Regions from separate parts of the Homo sapiens genome. Here regions 1, 2 and 3 are each linked to region 4. Evidence: promoter capture Hi-C in 16 types of primary human blood cells and fetal thymus (Javierre and others, 2016). All regions are on one chromosome and are shown on one strand. The core of a region is centred on a gene start or on the middle of the fragment in contact, and the rest is flanking DNA. Distances in the headings are between cores, read along the strand shown. Region 1 has its middle 25 kb from the start of ADGRD1. Region 2 overlaps ADGRD1 (adhesion G protein-coupled receptor D1). Region 3 overlaps ADGRD1 (adhesion G protein-coupled receptor D1). Region 4 holds the start of MMP17 (matrix metallopeptidase 17).

Region 1 (4,947 bases), core at 1,246-3,745, 900 kb after region 4:
ACCTAAGCCTCCCAAAGTGCTGGGATTACAGGCATAAGCCACCATCCCCAGCCCAGAAACTATTCTTTTTAAATTTATTTCTTTTGTACATGTGCTCAGAGATTATTAAACACAAAGCATGCCAAGTGGTAATGATAAATGTAGAAGGTAACAGTTTGTAATCTATTTACATGAATCATATTAAGCTACAGAACAGCACATTCTTCTGACAGCCTTTGGCCTAGGATCCCGATCATATCCTGTTATGGGTGATGGATTTGCCAAAATCCCTTTGAGAACTGGGACTCCCAACCTGTACACTGACAATTTCAGGAAAATCTTTTCAAAATTATTTACAAAAATCAGAATAAAGTATTTCTAAGGAGTAAAAAGCCCTGGGAAAGATGTTGTGTGTGAGAGAGAAAGAGAGGCCAGGCAAGGTGGTTCGCGCCTGTAATCCCAGCACTTTGGGAGACCGAGGCAGGTGGATCACCTGAGGTCGGGAGTTTGAGACCAGCCTGACCAACATGGAGAAACCCTGTCTCTACTAAAAGTACAAAATTAGCCAGGTGTGGTGATGTGCACCTGTAATCCCAGCTACTTGGGAGGCTGAGGCAGAAGAATTGCTTGAACCCAGGAAACGGAGGTTGCAGTGAGCCAAGATCGCACCAGTGCACTCCAGCCTGGGCAACAAGAGTGAGATTCCGTCTCAAAAAAAAAAAAGAAAGAAAGAAAGAGAGAGAGAAGGCTGAACCATTGATTATAACCAGCAGAGCCAGTTGGCAGCTACTGTGCAGCCAGCCACACGTCTCATTGAGACCTGCAGGAACAGCCAGTAAATGAGTGGGAATGGATGACCCTTGCACACGACCCTGCTCCAAAATCAGAACTGTGTCTGCAGCCCACCTTGTTTCCCTCTGGCAGAAAAATAACCTTGAGCTGTGCAGCTGCTGAGCTGAACATCCAGAGGACTGAGCACACCCAGACCTGTAAGTGCCACAGAGGAAGCATGGAATGAGGAAGCTTTAGCTCATCCTGGAAGATGAGAACGCACACCTGAAACCATGACCTTTTTGAGATTTTTAATAACGAGCATACTTTTAGACTGCTCTTAGGCTCTGTGTCTCTGAATTTATAGAGAGAGAGACTCCTCAGTCAGGCAGGCTGTCCAGTGGGGCCAAGTCTTAATAAAGGTTAAATCACCATCCCCTTCCTTCACCATCTTCATCTCATGATCAGAGACAATGTCATCCTCATCCTCAAAGTGATCACTGGTGGGGCAGCCCCCTGTGCCAACCCTGCCCCGAGTGCCAACCTGCAGGCATCTGCTGATTCCTTAGGACAACCCTAGGAAGTTTATGCTATTTTATTTTTACTTTTTGGAGACCAGGTCTTGCTCTGTCACCCCCGCTGGAGTGTAGTGGTGTGACCACAGTTCAGAGCGGCTTTGATCTCCTGAGCTCCAGTCATACTCCTGCCTCAGCCTCCCAAGTAGCTGGGACTACAAGCATGTGCAACCATGCCCAGGGAATTTTTTAAAATTCTTTTGTAGAGTGAGCCACTATTTTTAAAACCTTCTTTTAAAGATGAGGAAACAGAAGTTCTGAGAGGTAAAGTAGGTTCCCCAAGGCCAGTTTGTGAGTGGAGGATTAAAGGTTCCAATGCAGGGAGCCTCACTCCAGCACCTGCGTTCTTAACCACTCCACCACGTCCTTTCCGTATGTCTAAACATTCTGAAAGAAAAATATTTTATAACAAAGAAGTGCACAGTAGAGTTTCTCATTACCTTGATATTATATTCTGTGGTCCGTGAAGACATTATCATCACCAGACACGTGACCTGTGGTCACCTCTAACTCAATTCTCTCACACTCGCATCCCAGACAGACACAGAGGCTCACAATCACGTGCACCACAAAGAGGATTATTTTTACGTTTTTATGATGAGTTCATGTGCAGCTATTCAAAGGCTTTGGAAACCTTCCCATCTCATAGCATCTTCAAGAGAATGTTTCTTTCTTTAACCCATGGAAAAAAAAAAAAAAACCTTCCTAGTCCGACCTTGCTCAAGTCTTTTTGACAATAGTCCCTGTTCCTCGGTCGCAGTAACAAAGAATAAAAATGGGTGGCCAAGACACCCAGCCGTGTCCTCGTGAAGAGAGAAACAGCACCACTCACACTCCACTCTGCCTGATACAGTCAGAAGCATCTTGGGAGAATTTCCAATTTGACAGTCGTGTGGAATGAGAAAATAAATGTGCAGGGAACAGGTTTGTAAGAATTTACATCCAGCTTGTGCAACATGGCAAAACCCCGTCTCTACTAAAAATATAAAAATTAGCCAGGCATGGTTGCATGCACCTGTAGTCCCAGCTACTTGGGAGGCTGAGGCAGGAGGATCGCTTGAGCCCAGGAGAGGGAGGTTGCAGTGAGCCGAGATCGCACCACTGCACTCCAGCCTGGGCGATAAAGCAAGACCCTGTTTAAAAAAAAAAAAAAATTCCAGGACTCATTGTTTTTTCTATTTGAGGGGAAGGAAGGATGACGTCGGGGCAATTAGATGTAAACTTTTGGCAGGAACTCAAGAATGACAAGTACAAGAAAACTCAGGAAGGAGTGAAACTTCTCCATATGCCACTCCCCACAAACTAGAGTTAAAACCATGGCAAAAATGTGTTGCCAAATAAGTGATGCTATTGCTGCATAAATACGAAGCATTGCTGGGTTTGTTGTTTTCTGTGTGTGTGTGTTTTGCTGTGTTACCTAAGCCAAATATGAACTAATACACAAGGACACACAGTAACCATGAATGCAGTCAGACAAGTAATGATTTACGCTGTGTACAGATTGTGACGTTTTTGGTTCTTTGCAGGGTCGGAATAAATAGAGAACAGAGGCAGAGCATCCAAGAAGGAAAAACAGAAGCTCCTGGCAGATGCTGAAACCGGAAAGAGGCATGAGAAGACAGCAATGGGATCTGACACTACGGCCCTGTCTGTCAGGGCTATGTCAGTTACCAACCCATCTGATAGAAGCAGAAGGAAAACAAACTGGTCCGTGGAAGGAAAGGCCAGTGGTGATGCTGGCTGCAGGCACAGCTGGATCCAGGTGACATCCTGGGGTTCAGCTTTGCCCTTCTATTCAGACCCTTTCCTTGCTGCGGATGTTTACAAATAGTGCCAAGCCTGGAGTCACTCTCTGACTTGTCTTAATTATGTCATTAGACCAGCTTTTCTTTTCTTTTCTCTTTTTTTCTTTTCTTTTTTGAAACAGGGTCTCCTGTCACCAAGGCTGGAGTGCAATGGTACAATCACAGCTCACTGCAGCCTCAACCTTCTGGGTTCAAAGAATCCTTCCACCTTAGCCTCCCCAGTAGCCAGGACCACAGGCGTGCACTACCACACCCAGCTAATTCTTTTATTTTTTGTAGAGACAGGGGTCTCACTATCTTTCCCAGGCTGGTCTCGAACTCCTGACCTCAAGTGATCTACCCGCCTCTGCCTTCCAAAGTGCTGGGATTACAGGCATGAGCCACCACGCCTGGCCTATTATTACTTTTTTGAGACAGGATCTTGCTGTTTCGCCCAGGCTGGAGTGCAGTGGTGTGATCATGGCTCGCTGTAGCCTCGACCTCCTGTCTCTACAAATTTTTTAATTTGTAGAGACAGGGTCTGGCTATGTTGTTCACAGGGCTGGTCTCAAACTCCTGGACTCAAGTGATCCTCCCACCTCAGCCTCCCAAAATGCTGGGATTACAGGTTTGAGCCACTGTGCCAGGCCTCATTAGACCAGTTTTCTGACAAACGTGATAGAGAAATCATAATCATTTTCTTGTTGGTTAGTAAGGAATAGAATAGAAAATAGCAACTCATTAATTCAAGCAAGTGAATATGTAGAAGAGGGGGTCCACATAGGGGAGAAGGCGGCCATTTTTCCAAGAAGGAACTCTGACTTGCTGCAGATATTTAGGGGAAAATTCCTAAAATAATGGGGATTTTAGGAAGCTTGGAGAAATTCAAGATGACCTATTGCCAGGTAAAGGAAGCAAGTTGTCAAAATGTATGAATTTGAGGCTCTAGAATTCTCCAAAAGCTTTAGAGTGGCCTAAATAACCTGATTAATATTTTTCAATCCTGGGTGGCAGTATATAGAATACACGCCACTAACATGGGAAGAGTTCCAAGACATGCCACATGAAAACAAAAACAAAACAAAAGAAACAAGTTACAGAACTATTAAGATCATGCGATATTATTTACGTACAGCATATACATAAATGACATCTGGGTACATATTATGCAAAGGCATAGGGAAAGTTCTGGAAGGATAGGATGCAAACCAAAAGAGAATATACTTCTGGAGAATGGAGAGAAGGGCCAGAAGTCACAGGTCTTTACTGCCCAGGGGTGTACCTGGGACTATTCTACAGTCCCAGCTGCTTAGGAGGCTGAGGTGGGAGGATCACTTGAGCCCAGGAGTTCAGGGCTGTAGTGAACTGAGATTGAGCTACTGCACTCCAGCCTTGGTGACAGAGTAAGACATTGTCTTAAAAAAAAATTAAGGCCAGGTGCAGTGGCTCATGCTTGTAATCCCAGCATTTTGGGAGGCCAAGGCGGGAGGGTCACTTGAGGCGAGCAATTTGAGACCAGCCTGGGCAACAAAGTGAGACCTCATCGCTAATAAAAATAGAAAAATTAGCTGGGTGTGGTGGTAATTAGCTGAGTAGCTGTAATCACAGCTACTCAGGAGGCTGAGGCAGGAGGATCGCTTGAGCCTGGGAGGTTGAAGATACAGTGAGCCAAGATCGTGCCACTGGCACTGCAGCCTGTGTGACAGAGAAAGACCCTGTCTCAAATAAATTAATAAAGTTTAAAAAAAGAGCTCTCTAGCCTTGTTGCGACATTTTACATCTTCACAAGAAGAATGTATCCAGCCAATGACTTAAATAATAAAAATTCTTTTTTTTTT
Region 2 (4,412 bases), core at 182-2,681, 750 kb after region 4:
AAAAACATGTGTGTCCACACAGGCAAAACACAGAAACAAAAGGTGGAGGAAGGATGGAAGACACATTGAATTAAGCAACACCATATATTTCCTATGATTATAAATATAAATTATATATAAATTATTGAAAAAACACATAAAAAACCCTCCCACCGTGGTTATTACTGGGGAAAGGGGTGGAGATCAGGATAAGAGGTAAAGATCAAAGGGAACACTTGCTTTTCTATAATGTTTTACTTTTGAACAAAATAATATATTGATATATTACTTGTATAATTTCTTAAAGTATCAGTCTAGAAAAAAAGTGGCCCAGAATTCTAAGCCCAATGAAAATCTTTCAAGACTAAAAGAGAATACTTTTTCAAATGGTAACTGAATCTATTGCCAGTGGACCAGAACTGCAAGAAGAGTTAAAGGAGTATGATACTAGACAAAAATCTACACAAAGAAATAGAACAGCTGGAAGTGGAATAAGTGAAGGTAAACAGGCAATTATTATTGTCTTAATTTTAATTGCTCTAGAAGATAACTCATTATCCGGGGGAAAAAATACTAGCAATGCATTGCGTTTATGGTGTCTGTACAAAGGTGAAATGTACTACAACAACAGCACACAGAACGGGCAGGAGGAAGTGTGAACCTATTGTTACAATGTCTTAGAATATATTTGGAATGATATCATAGTACTTGAAGGCAGGCATGAATGAATTAGACATATATACACTGTAAGCTTAGGTCAACCACTATCAAAAAAGTTAAAAGGATGTATACATTAGAAATCATTTATAGTAGAGATAAAATAGCATCATAAAAGATATCCAACAATCCAAATGAAGTCAGAAAAAGACAACATTTTAAAAAGATAGAAAAGTTAGAAGACATCTAGCAAAATGGTAGATTTTAATCCAGCCACACCAATGATTACATGAAATATAAATTGTCTAAACATGTCAATTAAAAACAGAAATTTTAGGACTGGATTAAAGAAAAGACACGACCCAGCTACATGCAGTCTAAAAGAAACTCACTTTAAATATAAATATATAAATAAGATAAAAGTTAAATTATGGGAAAAGATACAGCACTCAAACACTAATCAACAAAGCTAGAGTAGTTTTATCTAAATTAAACTAAGTAGACTTCAAAGTAACGCATATTTCCCAGGGTAAAGAGGGACATTATGTAATGATAAAAGGGCTAATCTTCCAAGAAGACATAACAATCCTAAACATACATGCACCTAATAACAGAACTTCAAAATTCATTAAAGAAAAATTCATAAAACTAGGCCGGGTGCAGTGGCTCACGCCTGTAATCCCAGCACTTTGGGAGGCCGAGGCGGGCGGATCACGAGGTCAGGAGATCGAGACCATCCTGGCTAACACGGTGAAACCCCGTCTCTACTAAAAATACAAAAAATTAGCCGGGCGTGGTGGCGGGCGCCTGTAGTCCCAGCTACTCGGGAGGCTGAGGCAGGAGAACGGCGTGAACCTGGGAGGCGGAGCTTGCAGTGAGCCGAGACCATGCCACTGCACTCCAGCCTGGGTTACAGAGCGAGACTCTGTCTCAAAAAACATAAAAAAAAGAATAAAACTAGAAGTAGACATAGGTAAATCCACCACTAAAATTGGAGAATTCACACTCCTCTCTCTTTAATTGACAGAACAAGTTGACAGAAAAGTAGTAGTAAGAATATAGAAGACATAATCTTAACTATCAATCGACTTGGTGTAATTGACATTTATAGAACACTCCACCAAGAATATACTTTTTTTCAAGTGCACATGGGACTTTCATCAAAGACTGAACATATATGGGGGTGTCATAAAAACTTTTAACAAATTTAAAAGAACTAAAATTATACAAAGAATATTTTCTGATCATAAAAAAACTATTTACAAATCAACAGCAGAAAGCTCTCTGGAAAATTCCCAACTATTTGGAATTAAACTACACACTTCAAAATAACACATAGGTTGAAGAGGTTGAAGAGGAAGTCACAAGGAAAATTAGAAAATATTTTAAATTTAATCAAAATAAAAACATATCAAAATGTGTGCAATGCAGCTAGATCAGTGCTCACAGAAAAAATATAGCATTAAATGTTTATATTAGAAAATAATAAAGCTTCATAGTAATAACCTAAACCTACATTTTAAGAACTTTTAAAATGAAGAGCAAATTAAACTCAAAGAAAGCTGAAGGAAGTAAATTAAAGACAAAGAGGATAAGCCAATGAAATTGACAACAGAAACACAAGAGAGAAAAATCAATGAAGCCAAAAGTTATATCTTTGGAAAAATATCAATAAAATTAATAAACCTATAGTAAGAGTGACTCAGAAAAAAGAAGACACAGATTATAGATAAAAAAGTGAAATGGGAACATCACCACAGACCCTTCAGGCATGAAAAAGGCTAACAACGGAATACCACAAAAAACTCTGTGCCTATAAATTAAACAACTTTGATGAAATTGATGAATATTTCAAAAAAACATAAACTGCTTGAACTTATTTAAAAAGAAGTAGACGACCTACATAGTCCTGCATCCATAAAAGAAACTGAATGTGTAGTTGAAAACCTGCCAACATTGAAAATGAAGGCTCAGGTGACTTCATGGTGAATTCTACTAAAATGGAAGAAATAATATCAATTCTATACAGACTATTCCAAAGTGCATCCCAAAATGTAACTTTTATAAAGGTATCATTACCTCGATATAAAAACAAAGACATTACCAAAAAAAGAAAACTGCAGACCAATATCCAACATGCACGTAGACACAAAAATTCTCAACAACTGTAGCCAATTAGATTTAGCAGTATACAAAAAGATAATACATCATGACCAAGTGTGGTTTACCCCACAAAAGCAAAGCTGGTGAAACTTCCAGCTTTAATCATAATGATCCCACTCTGAAAACTACCCAAATGTTCCTCTACTCGGGAGAAGATAAATAAACTACGGTACATCCATGTAACGGAATACCCCCTCAGCAGTGAAATGTGAAAACAAGATGTTGATATATCCAACAATACATGTGTGGTGACGCTCAACACACTATGCAAAATTAAAGAGGCTAGACTCCAAAAGGCTTCCTGCGCCATGATTCCATCTATGCACACTCTGGCAGAAGCAAAACTATATAGGAACAGAAGACAAATCGGTGCTTGCAGGAGCCGGACGTGAGAGGAAGGGATGACTGCAAACAGACACGGGGGCATCTTGGAGGGTGATGGATTGTTCTAATCCTGATTACGGTGGTTGCACAACTGTATTCATTTGTCAAAACTCACAGAACTGTACAATCATCTACAAGTGTGGATTTTTCTGAATATCAATTATATAATAATAAGTAATAATTGCACAATGGACAGGAAGGATACAGATACTATATTCATGATGGTGGCTGCCTCTAGGAATTGAGGGAAAAGAACAGAAGGAGGTGGAGGGTTCGTTAACATCATCTGTGATGTTTTAGTTGTTTCATTCTTAAAAATACAAAAATATAAACATGCTAATAACTATAAATTTGGGGCAATGGGTACCTGCATTTGTTATATTATTCTCCGTACTTTTCTATGTTCTTAAAATTCCTTCAAAAATAAGAATCAACATGCCAATTTAGTTCTTACCAAATCCCATCCCGTTTTCTAGTCATAATTTTTTTCTCCAAACAGTGCCCCGGAATTGGAATAACTATTTCTAGGAGCACATGCTTCCAAATTTTCACAATTTACAAATAAAGGAAAAAGAGCTGCAACCTGCTGAGCCTGACCAGGGCAAAATCACTGAAATTACAGAGCATCAATCCACATTGCAGAGGCATGACGCCAACGGTCATAGCCAGACGCCGACGGCCATAGCCAGAGTGAGGCATCCCGGGGGTCAAAAATGTAAGCAGTGTTTGCTGGAGGTGACAGGAGCTGGGCTGCACTTTCCTCGCTGTTCACAGAACAGAGATAAAGGGAGATTATGCCGACCTGCTGCTGCACCCCCAGCTCAGCGTCTTGCAATCTCCTGGCCCTCTGGGTGCAGGGAGCAGAGACGCTTTCTCTGACGGGGACCATACCAGCAGAGGTGGCACAGCCTGTGTGGATCCTGCCCTGAAGCAGCAGGAGGAGGGAGCTGGGGAAGTGAGTCCAGGCACAGGAAGATGCCCAGGTGTTGGGGAGCCCTGACAACATGCAGGGTGATGGGCCACTAGGCAGGGTGTGAACTGGATGTCCCAGATGTGTTCCAGCTGCCTGTGCAGTGTTTTAAACATTGGGACAGTTCATATAATAATCTAGCCATAGCCAGGCACAGTGACTCACACCTGTAGTCCCAGGACTTTGAGAGGCACTTTGAGAGGCGGAAGGATTGCTTGAGCCCAGGAGTTTCAGACTACATTGAGCTAAGATCACACCA
Region 3 (4,946 bases), core at 1,612-4,111, 850 kb after region 4:
AGCAGAGAGATAAGCTGCTTACAATCGGACTCTGATAGCAAGTGGAACAGGAAGGTCACGGAAAAGGTTCAGATGGTTCTGTGTCAGGGGAGGGAGGCAGAGATTATTTCTGACCTTAGGGATCACAGAGGGCAAATTTGAAGTAGATGTTTGCTGAACTGCCCCACTTTACAGAGGTGGAGGTACAAGCTGGTCCGAGCACACCGAGCATCCACAGAAGAAGGCAAACACCTTCTGGGCCCACTGTGCCATCATTCCACGCTTTATGCCTAGCAGCCCACTTAGTTCTCACAGTCACCCTATGATGTGATACTGCTATTACTGCCATATTATGAATGAGGAAACTGAGGCATAGGGCAGTTAGGGAAGGTGCCCAGGTTCACACAACTACCAACGTCCAGAGGCGGGATTTGATCCAGCCTGTTTGGGTCCAGAGTTCACGCTTTTTAATAACTGGGCCATGCAGCCTCCCTTAAGAATGAGCCAGAAAATGGATTTCCCTTAAATACATCAAAGATGTTTCCTACCGGAGGAGATCATCCTAGGCTTTTGTGCTGCCCCCTCCACCTCTGCCCTTCCCTTGTTGGGCTCCAGTCCTGACTTGGCCCCCACTCCATGCCACCCTGAGTCCTTCTGTGTCCCCAGCCACCTGTTCCCCTTCTCCAGCTTCCACTTCAGACCTTCGTCAGCCTCTGCAGCCTACTGCCCCACGTCCATGTCTCAACACCCACCTGCAAACTCAGCCAATGTGCAGGGACTCCTGTTCTCTTCCCACACATCCAGGGCCCCTCCCTCCTCCAAGACCACGCACAGTCCAGTGCTTCATGCGCTCTCCCCTAGCCCCTTCCTCTGCTCCCCGATTCTTCAGCCTCTCTCTCCAAAAGCTTCTTCTCGTCATGCTTTAAACAATTTCAAGTCTATACCACTAAGAAGAAGGAAGAAGAGGAGGGGGAGGAAGAGAAAGAGGAAGAGACAAAGACTGTGAGAGAAAAAGGAGGCAGATGAGGAGGAAGAGGGAAAATGAGAAGGAAAAGAAGGAGAAATGTAACCACTGCTTGCACTTTGCACACCATATCTTCAGCTTAATGTCCTGGAAACCGTGAGGTAAGTACTGTCAATATCATCTGCACATCACAGGTGTGATCACTGAGGTCAGTGTGGTCAGGTAACCTACAGCAGGCACACAGTGCACGGGCAGACGGAGCCCAGGCTCTGCACCAACCAAAGGCGGCTTACCAAGGGCACCTCCTTGCCTCTCCCCATGCACCTCCCCAACAACCCTTAAAGGAAAGGAGCTCGGGTGCCAGGAGGCAGCAGCATCCCTGGGCTCCTTGGGCTGCGTTGGGCTTCTCAGCGTCCATTCTCAGAGAAGACTCCACTCCTCCAGGCAGAGCCTCCCGGGACCGATGCTGTCACTCACCTGGGGGGCTGAAGGAGGCCTCCCATGTCATGGAATTGTCCCGCGTATACAGCTCCACAGAGCCTCTGCCACCGCTGGAGCAGACTTTGAACCCATTGGAGATGACCTGTCCCCCATACGCAGAAGGGATTGGTCTAGACTGTTCTCCTTGTGTCTTCCAGAAAAAAGAAAACGTGACCCCTGAGGAAAGTCACAAGATCAGTTATTCACAGAGAGCAGGGGACTTGACTTCTCGCAAGCACATGGTTCTCTTTGCTTTTTATTTTTCATTCGAAAAGCATTTTGTCCCCATTCTAAAGGCAGTGTATGTTCAGTTCAGAAAATCCAGACAGTGATATTTGCTCATGTTTATTAAGGGCTCACACAGTGCCAGGCACTTTTCTAGGAGTTTGAAATGAATTCTCGCCTTTTAAAAAGTACAAAAATCCTGCTTCATCCCCACTATACAGATGAAGGAACTGAGGCTCATTCACTCAAGGTCACCAGTGACTGATGAAGATCGCTGCAGCCCCAGGCAGTTCCCCGCCCCCACTCCCCGGGATCATGCAAATGTGAAGACCTACACCCTCCAGGTTTCTCTCCTATTCCTCCAGAAATGTGGTTAGGGCGGCTCCTTCCTAAGCCTCTTCTATAAATAGATTTTACAAAGACACGAACCATCTCAGGCACACTGGTTTATAAACAACATTTCTATAAAGTTTACTCCACCGTGAACTTCCTCCGATGTCCATAAATACACTGTCACGTTGTCACTTTTATGTCTGCACAGCGGCGCATTCTAAACAAGCACCACAGTCTTTTTTTTAAACAGCAATCCCCTGTTGCTGGATCTTAAGGTTTTCTTCCACTTTTTGAAGAAATTTTCAAACAGAACTTGAAGCAAATTCTTTTGCATATCTCAGACTATATGCCTTTAGGATACATTCCCAAGAGGGCATTTCTTGCCAAAGGGAAGCACACTTTTAAGGTTGTTGATATCTTCAATTGTTCATTTCCCGCAGTTGGATACAGAGGGGGCAGCAGCTGAAACCTTTTTCAAGACTCTAGTCTGCACATTCGTGGTAAGTCCTGACCCCAGGCCCACGCTGCGGGGGAGGAGGGATTGCACCTGGACTAAATGGTCTGAGCGACGCATGTTAGCATGAATGAGCTGGCTCATTAGTTCATGTTGCCTCCGCCACCAGCAGCAGATAGGACATACCTCAAATGTGTTGTGGCAGTATATTACAGTAAATTATGACAATTAGATATTGTACCTTTGTGGGTGCAAAGTCCTACTGTGATCAATGTAAACATGGAAAAACAATGTAATTTTTATGATCCTCATGTGGGATTTCTCCATGTTTTTACTATAAGAGGAACTGCAGGCCGGGCGCGGTGGCTCACGCCTGTAATCCCAGCACTTTGGGAGGCCGAGGCAAGTGGATCACCTGAGGTCAGGAGTTTGAGACCAGCCTGGCCAGCATAGTGAAATGCCGTCTCTACTAAAAATATAAAAATTGGCCGGGTGTGGTGGCATGCACCTGTAGTCCCAGCTACTCAGGAGGCTGAGGCAGGAGAATTGTTTGAACCACGGAGGCAGAGGTTGCAGTGAGCCGAGACCACGCCATTGCACTCCAGCCTGGGCAACAGAGCAAGACTCTGTCTCAAAAAAAAGAGGGTCCAGGCATGGTGGCTCACGCCTGTAATCCCAGCACTTAGGGAGGCCGAGGCGGGTGGATCATGAGGTCAGGAGATCGAGACCATCTTTACTAACATGGTGAAACCCCGTCTCTACTAAAAATACAAAAAATTAGCCAGGCGTGGTGGCAGGTGCCTGTCGTCCCAGCTGCTCAGGAGGCTGAGGCAGGAGAATGGCGTGAACCCGGGAGGCAGAGCTTGCAGTGAGCCGAGATTGTGCCACTGCACTCCAGCCTGGGCGACAGAGCGAGACTCCGTCTCAAAAAAAAAAAAAGAGGAACCGCAAAAGCCCAGCTCCTGAGCATGCCCCGCACCCACCCCGACCGCTGTTCTGCACTCACACCCACTGGTCTGGGGGCCGGGCTCTCTGCTGAAGGGGAAGTCAGGGCAGGGCCTGGCTGGAGGCTCTGTGGAGCTTGGGCCTCTCTGGCGTTGCATTTTGGAGCTCTGGTTGTCTCTATTCCACTTCTCTGCCTCCAGTAGCATCTGCCCACCTGGCCCTTCTTTGTGTGTAAACTCCAGTGTGTGTGTGTGTGTGTGTGTGTGTGTGTGTGTGTGTGTGTGTGAGACACTAGCTGCCTGTCTGGATTCTGCCCCTGACAGCTGGAAATACATCCAGCTGCCTCACCCCCGCCAAGCCTGGCCCAGGCACATGGGTAAGAGGGTTCAGTGGTGCTGAGAGAGAACACGTGCCCAGAACTGGTCCAAAGAGGCCCATGATGGGACGGTGGGTGCAGGGGAGAGGCAGAAGGATATTTGCCCTGGGCTTTATTTCTATAAATGGTGCCAAATTTAGACTTTAGACCTTACCTTCACATGAGGTTATGGACACAGTCTTAGAGAGTCACTGAATTCAAAGAAGACATTTGTCATTCGTGTATAAGGCAGTGTCTCATTGCCCACCATGCTTTCTGTGATGCCTTATGAATTAACATATCTGTTAGAAGTCCTTCAAATGTCTTGTGACAATATATCAAGACAACTATACCTTTGTGAGTTCAAAGCCCTCGCAGGATTCAGGAAAAACACAGCATACATTTTATAACCCTGGTATGGAATTTCCCCATTTTATTTTTTAAGAGAAGAAGAACCTCAAAAAAATTGGAAGAGGCCTGGACCTTTCTGGACCTCTGAGAGGCTACGGGGTACAACTCCAAGCCCTGCGGCATCTGTCCTTAGGGCTCCTGGGAAAGAAAACAGCCTTCCCGAGTGCCCAGTAATGTGGGTTACCGCAAAAGGGTGCGACTGTGGGGGTTGCACAGAGGCCTGGGGCAGCTGACGCTGGTGTCCCCAGACCTGGCTGGCACCACCCACACCCACCTCATGAACGGGCTTCCTGCAACACCTGCCTTGGGCGCTGAGGGGTACAGAAGCCAGGACAACCCCCCGAGCCTCCCGCCACTTCCCTGCCTTGGGCGCTGAGGGGTACAGAAGCCAGGACAAACCCCCAAGCCTCCCGCCACTTCCCTGCACACTCAGAAACAACCCGTTTCACAAGGAAGTCAGCACAGTGCGTTGTGAAATTTTTGTTATGAAACAAATTCCCAGTAGGATTCATGGAAGTTAATTTTTTCCAAAAACTTTGCTGCATTTTAAAATTTCTTTCACTCAATTCAAAATGAGCCTGTCTTGGCCAAATGTCTTTCTGTTCAGGAAGAAAAATAAAAATAAAAAAATTCCATGTGGTGTTAGGTAAGGGTAGATCGAAGGCCATCCATGGTGCCGGTAACCAAGCTTTTCATTTAGTTAACTCAACGCACAAAACAATGACTTCTACCTGAGCAACAGCTTATATTTAAGTATCAATTCACGTCTTCATAGAGTCATAACAAATTCACAATGTGCC
Region 4 (4,396 bases), core at 1,030-3,529:
CCAGACCTGAATATCAGTCCACTCCGGGAGCGCCTCCGGCGAGCGGGCGGAGGAGGAGTCCCCGCTCCCGCCCAGATCCCGGCCTCCTCGTCCCTCCCCGCGGGGAAGCCGCCCGCCCCTGGGCCTGAGCTCGGCCCGCGGTTCCCCGAGGGCCAGCAGAGGACGCCCCGCACCGCCAGTGTGAGCAGGAAGCCGCGGCAGGACGGAGGCTCCACGCCAGGCCGGGCCCGACACGGAGCGGGGCTCCAGGCAGGGGGCTGCCCGCAGCGTCCTCCCTCTCCGGCTGGACACCGGGGCCCCACTCACTGCCCCCGGCCAGGCTGGGGAGCCACATCCTCCGCTCGGTGCTGTCGCAGGGCGCGGGGCGGGTGACCCCCGGGGTGCCAGGAGAGACCGAGGCGCAGGTACCAGCCGAGAGGAGGGCGCCTGACCCACTCTCTCCGGGCAGGGGGGCAGGTGGGTGGCGAGAAACTTCCAAACCGCACTGGGTCTGATCAGCCAACATGGCTCGGCCGGGGGTCCATCCTCCTGAGTGTGTGGGCCCCACCTTGAGTCCTTCCCTGGCATTGCCCCGGCCCCTTCTGCGGCACCCTCGGACCTGGAAGGCGGGCCTGGGTTCACCTCCCTCCACAGCTGGAGACCCCAGGCCCCCAGGGCGTGATTCTCAGTGGGGGATCCGGGAGATCCGCACCTACAAAAGGGTCTTGAGGAGGTGGAGGGGGGCACCCCAAGTTCACAGGCTGCCTGGCTGGAAGGAAGCCACTGTGGGGACCTGCAGGCACCTGGACGCGGGCAGCAGGGACAGTGGCCAGCACCCTCCCAGATGGCTTCGGGGCCTGGGGCAAACGGTGGCCAAATCGGCTTCCCATCCAGACCCCCTGGCCAAGTCCTGCCAACCACAGGGGCTGCGGGTGCCACCCAAGTGGCCCCTCCATATGCCTCGACTGCCTGAAATACACCTGCGCTGACTTGCTTGGACCCCAAGGTTTTGGAGCTCCTGAATGTCCACTGCGCTGGGCGAGGGGCCCTGCCAGGACCCCACTGGGAGACTGTCCGCGGACGAGGGCCAGGCCGAGTACTTGTGTGGGGCGGGGAGGCCTCGGCTCCTGGCCCGACTCCCTGGGTAGGAGTCCATTGAAGGCAGCGGTGGGGCAGGAGCCTCAGAAGGAACCAACGAACCCAGCGGGAGTTCACCCGGCCGCCCCAGCGGGGGGGCGCTGACCCCACGACGTGTGCTCTAAATCTTCCGGGTCCACAGGAGACGCGAGTCCCGGCTGCGGAACAGGGGAGGGGGCTGTAGGAAGAGGCCACGTCGCTGCCCCCAGGCAGGGTTTCTAAGCTGAGCTGGGGACAGCTACTGGGTGTGGAGTGAGGAAGGCTCTCCCCGCGCCCCCGGCTCAGCACTGTACCAGGGCAAGGCAGGGCCAGCCTGGCCGACCTGGGGTGGAGGGGAAGGAGGCTGAGGGCCAGGTCCTTGTCCAGTGGGGAGCTGGGGGCCAGCATCCCTGTGCCCCCAACACCCTCAACCGAGCAAACTCGGGGGCTCAAGGCTTTCGGGGTGCCCCCACTCCGTAGCCCCTGCCCTTCCTCGCTTTGTGGGTGCGTGCTCCTGCCCCCGCCACTCCCACCCGGAACGCACGCAGCGCGCAGAGCTCGGGGCGGCCGCGATGCCTGCTCTCGCCCAGCCCGGCTGCTCCGGGGCTGCTGCAAGCCGGCGACCCGGGCTCCGGGTGGGCGACCCCCTCACAACTCCACGGGCTCCTGCGGCTGCGGCGCGCTCCCAGCGCACGGAGCCGGGACGGCAGCCGGCGCCTCCCCAGGACTCGCGTGCGCTCGCCCGGTCGCTCAGCCCGCGTCCCTGCCTCAGTCTCCCCACCCAGGAAATGGGTCCAGGGCGCCAGGGCTCCCGCGCGACGCCGACGTGCACTGCTGGGGTCTTCCCGGTCCCCGCCACCCGGCCCGCGGAGACCCCCGGCTCCGGCCCAGGAGCTCCGCGCCCGTCCCGCCCGCGCGCTCACCACTCCCAGGCTGAGGTCCTCGGCGCGCGGCGCGGGTGCGGGCGCGGCGCAGCCCCCGCGGGTCCCCAGCGCCAGCAGCAGCAGCAGCGGCAGCGGCAGCCGCGAGAGTCCGGGCCCTGGGGGCGGCGGGCCGGGTCCCCGGGCTGCGCGGCGCCGCATGGCGCTCACATGGGCCCGCGGGCGGCGTGCAGGGTCCCGCGCCCTCCGCTTCGCGTTCCGCAGCCCGGCGCCCTCCGCTCTCCGCGGCGCCCCCGCCGGACTGAGCCCCGCGCGGCAGCCTCAAGCGGCGGGGCGGGGCCATGCAAATGTATGCTAACGAGGCCGGCCGCCTTAAAGGGCCCGCGCCGCCTCGGACGCTGCCACCCCCGCCCGCCCCGCCGTGTCCGCGACGGGACTGGGTCCGCGGCATCACAGGGAAGGCGTTTCCCCGGGTGTCTTAGGACGCTCTTGGGGCGGCGGGGACGCGCGGGATGGGCGCGGAGGCGGGGGTCGGGGCGCCTGCGGGGAGCTGACCCTGACTCCCCTCTCCGGCCGCGCTCCCGGGTCCACCCCCCACGGCGCCGAGGCCCGGGTTCAGACCCGGGTTCAGGCCCCGGAGCCGCCGCCGCAGCGCAGCAGGTGGGCGCTTGGTGGAGCCCGCGGACCGCGGGAGAGGGAGGGTGGGGCTTGGGGGGCGCGGGGGACTGGAGGGCGAGGGCGGGTGTTGGGGGGGCTGGGGTCCTCGGCGGAGGCTCTGCGGTCCCTGCGGGCCTGGGAGCGAGAATGTTAACTTGTAATGTTTGTTGGAGCGCAGCGTGTGCCTGGCACATGCCCAGGAGTTACATAAATAATTTCATTTACTTACAACATTTATGAGATGAAAACTATGATTTCCATTTCGCAGACAAAGAAACTGAGGCCCAAAGAAATGAAGTAACTTATGGGAGGTCCTGGAGCGGGCAAGCGGCAGAGCCAGGGTCAGAGCCCGAGCAGGCGCTTGTGTGGATTGAACTCGTGCAAGTTGCGTACAGGCTGCCCACCGAGTGGGAGATCTTGGGAGAGGGCAGGGGGTGAGGTTCAAGGGTAACCCTTGCCTTTATTCAGCTTCTCCTCGTGCTGGACAGCATGGCTTCCCCTCCTTCCCAGGCCCTCCTGCTCCACCACCCCAAATCGCAGCTGGTACTGTCAGGACTGAGGTCTCATTCTACGGACAGGGAAACTGAGGCTCGGCCCCTTTTACCAGAACTGGTCTCAGGGAAGTGGTGCCCCTCCCCTCCTGTGAGGGCCGACTCCCCCCAACCACCCCCCCCCCCCCCCCCCCGCTTCCCTGGGTACTCTGGCCCATCCTGTCCCTGCTGCCCTCAGAGCCTCCCTGGCCCGGTCTGAACAGGGTGATTCCACACCTGCTTCAGATGACCTTGGTTCGGACTGATGGGATCACCTGTAGGAGGTGGGGACTTTCACAGGACATCCCGGATTGTTTTTTCTTTCTTTCTTTTTTTTTTTTTTGCTCTGTTGCCCAGGCTGGAGTGCAGTGGCACGATCTTGGCTCACTGTAATTTCTGCTTCCTAAATTCAAATGATTCTCCTGTCTCAGCCTCCTGAGTAGATGGGATTTCAAGCGTGCACAACCGTGCCCAGCTAATTTTTGTATTTTTAGTAGAGACGGGGTTTCACCATGTTGGCCAGGCTGGTCTTGAACTCCTGACTTCAGGTGATCAGCCCGCCTTGGCCTCCCAAAGTGCTGGGATTACAGGCGTGAGCCACCGCACCTGGCCTCATCCGGGATTTTGACCAAGTGCATCAGGACAACCTGGTTTCCAGAGCAGAGACCCAGCCAAAGCGGCTGTAGTCAAGGAAAGGAAGCGTATGGGTATGGGCTCAGGAAACGGTGGCGTCCTAGCGTGTGCCAAAGTCAGGCAGGGCTGGACCAAGTCTCACAGCAACAGCGTCAGAACGCGGTTTCTCTCAGTCCATCTCTGTGTGGGGCAAAGACGGCCCAGGGCAGCTCCTGTGCATCCTTCCCCCTCAGCAGGCCCAGCCAGAGACAGACTCTTTCTCAACCAATGGTCCCAAGGCCACCTCTCTCTGGATTCTGGGTCAGGACCTGATCGTGGGGCCAGGGGCAGGGAAGTGAGCTGAAGCCCTGGGCTGGAAGGGATTCTCTACAGGAAATCAGAGGTGCTGAAGTCAGAGGAAGGGAGGGTGGATGGCAGGCAAAGCTGGGTCGAGGACTCAGAAGAGGGAACGCGGCCAGTGCCCCCACTGCATCATGGGGCTCATACACATCTGAGACTTGGAACAGGACGCTGTTGAGGGGCTGTAGCTCGGTGCTGGCAAGGGGCTTCACCGCGGGGCTTGCTGGCATTGAAGGGAGATGGCTTGTTTATGGAGCTTGG

What was found. The method cuts DNA at HindIII sites, captures the fragments that hold promoters and counts their contacts. A CHiCAGO score of 5 or more calls a contact.
Region 1: a fragment that was not itself captured here is called in contact with the fragment with the promoter of MMP17 in region 4 in 2 of 17 cell types (naive B cells and M2 macrophages); the score reaches 5.7 in naive B cells.
Region 2: a fragment that was not itself captured here is called in contact with the fragment with the promoter of MMP17 in region 4 in 2 of 17 cell types (M2 macrophages and M1 macrophages); the score reaches 7.2 in M2 macrophages.
Region 3: a fragment that was not itself captured here is called in contact with the fragment with the promoter of MMP17 in region 4 in 1 of 17 cell types (M2 macrophages); the score reaches 5.9 in M2 macrophages.

The regions. Positions count from the first base shown.
Region 1 is chr12:130,926,486-130,931,432 of GRCh38, reverse strand. No RefSeq gene overlaps it. Among named protein-coding and RNA genes, the nearest start is that of ADGRD1, 25 kb to the left of the region's middle. The HindIII fragment of the contact is 2,981 bases long and covers 1,005-3,985 here.
Region 2 is chr12:131,077,795-131,082,206 of GRCh38, reverse strand. All of the region lies in intron 14 of ADGRD1 (adhesion G protein-coupled receptor D1), which reads right to left. Among named protein-coding and RNA genes, the nearest start is that of LINC01257, 85 kb to the left of the region's middle. The HindIII fragment of the contact is 1,397 bases long and covers 733-2,129 here.
Region 3 is chr12:130,978,538-130,983,483 of GRCh38, reverse strand. ADGRD1 (adhesion G protein-coupled receptor D1) reads right to left here. Exons shown (of 25, transcript NM_198827.5): 5 at 1,421-1,600. Among named protein-coding and RNA genes, the nearest start is that of ADGRD1-AS1, 13 kb to the left of the region's middle. RefSeq lists an enhancer at 2,948-3,938. The HindIII fragment of the contact is 3,950 bases long and covers 887-4,836 here.
Region 4 is chr12:131,826,276-131,830,671 of GRCh38, reverse strand. It overlaps MMP17 (matrix metallopeptidase 17), which reads right to left and starts at 2,279. Exons shown (of 10, transcript NM_016155.7): 1 at 2,019-2,279. The coding sequence starts at 2,177. RefSeq lists silencers at 36-295, 2,285-2,414 and an enhancer at 1-552. The HindIII fragment of the contact is 25,913 bases long and covers 1-4,396 here.